Linked DNA regions of Homo sapiens: region 1 is linked to region 2. The links are contacts of gene promoters, found by promoter capture Hi-C in blood cells and fetal thymus (Javierre and others, 2016). All regions are on one chromosome and are shown on one strand. The core of a region is centred on a gene start or on the middle of the fragment in contact, and the rest is flanking DNA. Distances in the headings are between cores, read along the strand shown.

What was found. The method cuts DNA at HindIII sites, captures the fragments that hold promoters and counts their contacts. A CHiCAGO score of 5 or more calls a contact.
Region 1: a contact is called between a fragment that was not itself captured here and the fragment with the promoter of EGFR in region 2, in 1 of 17 cell types (endothelial precursors). The highest score is 6.1, in endothelial precursors.

The regions. Positions count from the first base shown.
Region 1 is chr7:55,135,375-55,138,758 of GRCh38, reverse strand. All of the region lies in intron 1 of EGFR (epidermal growth factor receptor), which reads right to left. Among named protein-coding and RNA genes, the nearest start is that of EGFR-AS1, 52 kb to the left of the region's middle. The HindIII fragment of the contact is 3,536 bases long and covers 65-3,384 here.
Region 2 is chr7:55,017,062-55,020,600 of GRCh38, reverse strand. It overlaps EGFR (epidermal growth factor receptor), which reads right to left and starts at 1,584. Exons shown (of 28, transcript NM_005228.5): 1 at 1,236-1,584. The coding sequence starts at 1,323. LOC105375284 (a long non-coding RNA gene) reads left to right here and starts at 1,679. Exons shown (of 4, transcript XR_007060329.1): 1 at 1,679-3,539. RefSeq lists an enhancer at 1-584. The HindIII fragment of the contact is 3,906 bases long and covers 1-2,440 here.

The sequences.
Region 1 (3,384 bases), core at 583-3,082, 120 kb before region 2:
CAACATAAAATTAACTAAGACAACCTCCCAGAAATGTTTTGAAGATTGAAAAAATATATAAGCTTTTGACTTTCTTTTATTAAAGTTAACTATTGAGAATGCAACAGAAACATAACATAACATGCATCTGGACCCACGTTAGGGGATGTCAGCCACTCTATATTGTCTTAAGTTATTGTCTAAACTGAGATGTTTGGATCTGCATATGGACTTACTCAAATGTTGGCCATTAAACACAGTTACTTTATAGAATATTTATCAAACCAGAAAAGAAAGAAGAAAGAAAAATGAATACATAGTACTTTAAGGATTACATAAAAATATTTATTTAAGACTAGGTATTTCAGTAGTTGATTCAAAGAAAGAGTTGATATTACTTTAAGTCTATACATTTGAAAACCAGACAATTAAAAGTATTTGCATCAAGTTCCATACAAAATGCTAGTGGTTTGCCTTACCCTTTGCAAATCTGAAGACAAATTCTACTGCATCAAGAGCAGCAGGCCCTATGACTTAGGACTTCAAAGCACTAACTTTTTGTCCTAAAATTTTATTATGATTTATAAATGTATAGAAAAGCTGAAAGAATTGTACCGCAAACATCCTTATGTTAGCATTTTACTACATTCACCTTATCACATATCTATTTTTCTGTCTGTCAGATATGGTCCTCTAGTCTGCCTTTGGATGCATTTTAAAGTAAAGTAGAGATATCACTATACTTCACATTGGTATATCACTAACCAGAGTTCAATATTAGTTTGCAGTCATCATTGTTGTTTTTAAGGTAACATCCACAAACTGTGAGAGGATTAATCTTAAGTGTAGCATTTGATGAGCTTTAACAAATGCACATGCTGGAGTAATCTGAATTCCTGTCATGATCGAAACCCTAACTGTCATCCCTCATGCCCCTCCCAGTCGATCCCTGCCCCCATACACCAGAGGCAACTGCTGTCCTGATCCATTTTCACTACAGAATAGCTTTGCTTGCTTTAGAACATAGATGGACTCACACCACACTGTCCTCTTGAGCAAGCCTTATGTCACAGCACAGTAGTTTTGAGGTTCATCTCTGTTGTTGTGCTCCACTTGGCTGTCAGGGGCAGGTTCAGGAAAGTGGATATACGAAGTTATCTGTGCATTCTTGTTGGACATCTAGGGCGGGCCGGTGGTCTCGTTATTATTTTTCTTGAGAAACTCCTCACTTTATTTTAACTGAAAATAAAAGCAATCTGCCTCCTTTAAGTTTTTAAATGCCTCTGGTTTTGTAGGGTAGGCCCTGTGGCCTTCCTCTGCTATTATGGGGTGTATACCACTCTGCCCACAAGCCTGGGCAAATCTATATTACTTATTAAGACACAGTATTAGAACAAGTTTCTCCAGATTTGCCCAAATCCACTTAGACACTTAGAATCGTCTAAGTAAACTATAATTGTTTTAATTTGTTGTTTTCTTAGCTATGCATTAAAGGCTGCTGAGGTATGAGCTGGGCTGTTGTCAGTCTCTCCCCTTGGCCTCCAAGTTGTCTCTGCTTCCATCCCCAGCCCAGATCTTCGCATCTTTGCTTCCTTTGCATCTTCGAGGTACGCTTAAAGGCCTACCCTCTAGAAAAGCCTGTTCTGCAACTACATTAGCTTAAGTACCCACCATTACATCTGTCACATTATCCTGCATTCTCTGCTCCCTGGCAGTGATCACTACTTATTATTAAGTAGGAATAACTTAATAATAATCATGAAATTATTATTTGCCTATGAATTTGTTATCCATCTTTCCCTACCAGATATACAGATGGTCCTCAACTTTCCATAGGGTTATGTCCTGATAAACCCACCCTAAATTGAAAATAGCAGTCGAAAATGGCATTTTGTAGACATGATAGGATTCAAAAACACAAAACACAATATCCCCAAAATGCTGGTGACACAGTCCACTGTATAGTATCAGCTGTTTAGCCTCTTGATTGCATGGCTGACTGGGAGCTCTGGCTCCCAGCCATTGCCTGGCATCGCAAGAAAGTAACATATCAGACATCAACTAACCCAAGAAAAGATAAAAAATTCAACATTAGAAGTATGGTTTCCATTGAATGTGCATTGCTTTCACACCATCGTAAAGTCAAAAAATCTTAAGTCAAACTGTAGTAAGCTGGGGAGTGTCTGTAAGGATGTGTGTGTGTGTGTGTACACATATGTGTATATATAGATAGCTTATTGGACCTACTGGTATGAAATGCACACACACATGTTGGATTTATATTTTTGTTGTGAAAGCAATGGATGGCCATGTGACCAAAGTCTTGGATGACTTGTCCTGGGTTTCTCTGCCTTTCTCGTTTCCGTGTGCCTGAGGGAGATAGAGGAGGAGGTGGGCTGTATGGGAAGAGTGACAGTCCTTGCCACTTTCTGGTTGGTCATTATAAAATATTTCTAGCTTAGTCATATATTTAATTAGGCTTTAAAGGCCAGAGGAGGATTTTTTTCCCGCTTTCTTGCTGAAAGATTTAAGAAAATCTCAAATAAGATGAATGGATAGTTCATTTATAGGATGAACTTAAAAATATGTAAGGAAAATATAGCGAGTTTGCCAGAGGTTTCATTGAATCAGGACCGGTCATTTCTTTTGCTATACTAAAATCTCAAAGTGAACATGTATACACATCTCAAATGTGCTCAAATGCACGGAAGCATGACAGGAGGAAGATACACCGTGTTGTTAACAATGACCTTTTCTGAATGGTAAATTTCTGGGTGTTTTTCTTATTTACTCTTCATAGTTTTTGTGTTTTTATGTTTTCCATAGTGACCATGTATTACTTTATGCTAAAAAATTACCAAAAATTTAAAAAAATCTGTAAAAAATTTACAAAAATCAGTGTTAAAGAAGGCTAAAGAAGGCTATCTTAAAAAATACATTCCTTAAAAATTGAGAAATAATCATGTACATCTATGAAGACACTCAATTTACCACATAAAAAAATTTTATAAATTGTGACTATAGAACTAGACTAGTCTATGAAATTGATTTAAACCACACAATAGTTTGTAATAATGGAAACTAGAAAACCTATAGTTGTGAGTCATAATGAAATAAGTGGTTAAACCAAAGTAAATACACTTATTTAAATTTTCATTGTGGGTTTAATCAAAACTTTTGTGGGATGGAAAAAGTCATAATTTTGAAGACAACTTTTATTCACAAAGCAAATTTTATGTTTTTTCCTCAGTTGTTCCTTATTTTACCCTATTTTATTCCACAACTAATAAATAGTTCTTAACTGATAGGCATCCAAAGATACCTGTCAAACTGAATGTGAATCTATATTGGAACTTGAAAATACACATGTGATACTCAAAAAGTCCTTTTGAATTTCTGACAATC
Region 2 (3,539 bases), core at 335-2,834:
CAATCCGGTGTGTGTGTGTGTGTGTGTGTGTGTGTGTGTGTAAGACAGGTTTAATATTTTGGTTGGCTCAAATTCTTCAAACAGCAAAAAGAGACATCCAAGAAAGAAAGTCTCCGGGTTTTGAGGAGAAGTTTGCTGTGAGCCCCATTTTGAAACACCATGGTGTTGGCCAGGATGAGCTCTGCTTCCGGGGCTTCCGCTCAAGAGTCCCGCGATCCCCCCCTGCAGTGGCCGGACAGCCGCGTCCCGCTCCACCGCGAAGCCCAGGCGCGACCGAAGGGCTGCAGGTGGAGCAGACCCGGACGTCTCCGCGAGGCGGCCATCGAAGGAGAGCCTGGGGCTTTCGGCGCGGGCGCCCAGGAGGGAGCTGGGGTCCCCGGGAGGTGGGGGGCACTCTTGGATAGGCAAGACGAGGGCGCACCGGGCGAGGCGAGCGGCCGGGGTCTGCGCCCAAGGGGCGGGTCGGACCCCACCTGCCTTTTGCCAACGAGGAAACTAACCGCCGCCAGCACCACCCCTCCCCGGGAGCCGCAGGTGGTGGTAGACGAGTTCTCCCAGCTCCCAGGTCGAGGCTGCGACTCCACACTGGGGAACGAGGATCGCGGGGACCTGGAGAGGGGCCGGGGCCAGGCTGGCGGGCGCCGGCTTCAGTTTGAGACCTGCGCGGAGGGCGGAGGCGGGGAGGTCCTCTCAGAAAGCCGCCTGTCCCGCGGGGTCCGAGGGGAGGCTGTATTTTTGGGTTCCTTCCTCAGCTTCCCTAAACAGTGCAGTCTCGGCGGGTGGGCAGCGCCCGCCCCTCGGGTGCGCGCCAGGACCCCGTCGCGCCCTGGGAAGACAGCGCGGGGCGCACGTGCGGGACCCCGGCCCCAGGCGCCCACCAGCACCCGGCTTTCGCCCACTGACGCCGATCCTGCGCAGCTGGGCGGGGAAAGTGAGGGAAGAAAGTTGGGAGCGGTTCGGGGCGCCGGAGGTCCCGGCGGCCGTTCCCCGCCTGGCCTGCAGCCCGGTGTCCCACGCGTCTCCTCCTCCGCCCGCCCCAGACTCTCCCGGCCGAAGAACGAAACGTCCCGTTCCTCCCGCGGTCCCGGTCGGCGGCGCAGCTGATCTCAAGGAAACAGGAAAGGACGGGCGGGGGCGCGGGCGCCGAGCCGGTGCGCCGGTGCGCGGTTGGGCGGGCTGCGGGGTCCGGGGCGCGATCCGGGGGCGGCGCGGGAGCCGGCGAGACACGCCCTTACCTTTCTTTTCCTCCAGAGCCCGACTCGCCGGGCAGAGCGCAGCCAGCAGCGCCAGGAGCGCTGCCCCGGCCGTCCCGGAGGGTCGCATCGCTGCTCCCCGAAGAGCTCGCTCCGGCTCTCCCGATCAATACTGGACGGAGTCAGGGGGCCGTGCGCGGTGGTTGTGGCGTTGGCGGCGAGGCGGGGACTCGGGCGGACGCCGACGAGGTGGCCTGTCGTCCGGTCTGGGCGGCGGCGGCCGCCGGGGCTAGCTCGGGACTCCGGCCGCCTCGGCCGCGTCGGGCGCTCACACCGTGCGGGGGGCGGAGGCTGCTGCGGCCGCGCTGCGCCGGGGGCTGCCCGGACGTCTAGCTCGCGCGGGCCGAGGCGCGGGGAGGCAGGGCGGGAGGAGGAGGGACCAGGCGGCGGAGGAGGGATCGGGAGGAGCAGAGGAGGAGGAGAATGCGAGGAGGAGGGAGGAGAACCAGCAGCGGGGACCCAAGGCCAGCGGCCGCCGGAGGCGGTGGACAGCGGTGGCCCCCGCGGGACCTAGTCTCCGGCGGGAGTGGGGCGGCGCATGGGAGGGGAGCGGGTGCCCTGAGGAGTTAATTTCCGAGAGGGGCGTTCCCAGCACTGCCCCTCTGGACCCGGTCCCCGCGGACTTGCAGGCCCAGCCTATGTCCAGGTCGAGCCAAATCTGTGCCAGGGTCCCCTTCCCCCTTTCCCTTCTTTTGTTTTACAAAGCAAACTTGTACCAGCTTTAGACAGACTGGCCGAGCCTTAGAGCCAGCGTCGGATAATGGCACCGACGGGGAAACTGCTCCTTTATTCGGGTCCCCACCTCCCCTGCAGCACTACGGGACCCTCTCGGGGATCAGAGGCTGGCCTGGCAGCTGAGGAGGTCGCCGTGCCCGCGCGGCAGGGGTGCCAGGCGTCCGAGGTGGTGCTCTAAAGTCCGAGGGTCCTTCAGATCTTGTCAAGCACCCTCGAAATCATCTGAAATGAGGGCACCCAACTCCGGGTGCAGAGACAGGCCTCCTTAATGTTTATTGCAACCAGCCATGGGTACTTTGAAGCCAATGTGTGAAGCACATTACTTCGCAAAAGTGAAGCTCTTGGAATAAAGGCTTGACACAAACAGCCGTGGAGGTGCTTTTAGAGAGGCTAAGTGTCCCACTGCCCCTGTAGCTCCCGCAGGAGAAATGCCAGGGAAACTCGCGGAAGCTTTGGCCAAAAGAAACTGAGCTTTTTTGGGCTGCAGGAACTTGAGCTATATTCCTTTGGCAAGTCCACCCCATCCCCACTGTTCCTTCTCCTGCAGTAAAAATGTCCTCTAGGTCCATGTTACAGCCAGACCCCTCCTCTCTTCACGAGATTCACTAGGACCTTCAGGCCTGGTTCAACAACCCTGATCTCTCGGCTCTGTCAAAAATCACAATCCTGAAGTAAGTGAAGCTACAGACCTGCCCTTTGCTGTCTCTGAAGGGGAGCAACCTTACATCTTTCCTCCTCATCCAGCAAAATGTTTGTGCCTGGGTCTCGCACCCTGCAGCCTGAACGGTGGGGTTTTTCACCAGGGCAAGCGCAGACAGACACAGGTCTGCTCACTGCCCGCACAACCTGGAACTTCCCTGTGAATTAGGAGAAGTAATCTGTTCCTTTGTTTTAACAAATCAGTACAGCCACTGTGCGTTGAAGTCATGCCCTGAATGCAGAGGCCATGAAGGCTCTGCAGGCATGTGTGTGCTTCCTGCACACCTGGGCTGAGAGCAGTCCGTAGAAACACAGAAAACAAAACTAGAGAAAGGCAAATGGGAAGCACAACAGTGGAACATAAAATGAAGACAGGAGTGAGTCTTACAATAAAAGACCTGAATACAATAAAGTCCTGTGCATTCACTTAACAAGGGCTGCAAATTTGGTTTTAAACTATATTTTCTGTCAAGGGAATGTGACCTGTGTGTACAAGTCACAACACAAATCAATTTAAGCTACAACTGATTTGTAAGACTGTACAGGAATTTCTTTGAGTGCCCAAAAAGACAGCATGTAAGAACATCAGTTCTCACTACGTTAGGACTATATGAGACAACAGCCTTCATAGTACGGCTTGTATATTCTTCAATGTGATCTGATAGCATCACAAGAAACAGAGCTTTTTGTAAAGAATTACTAGACACACACATAGCACAATACTGGGATGGATTCCAGGGAACAGAGAAGAATGGGTTTGCTGAACATCTTCATGGGACATCTATGTAAAGTTTGAGTTTCTCCTTTGAGCTTTTGATACAAAAGCTGACATTCACGTTGATTTTGTAGTCC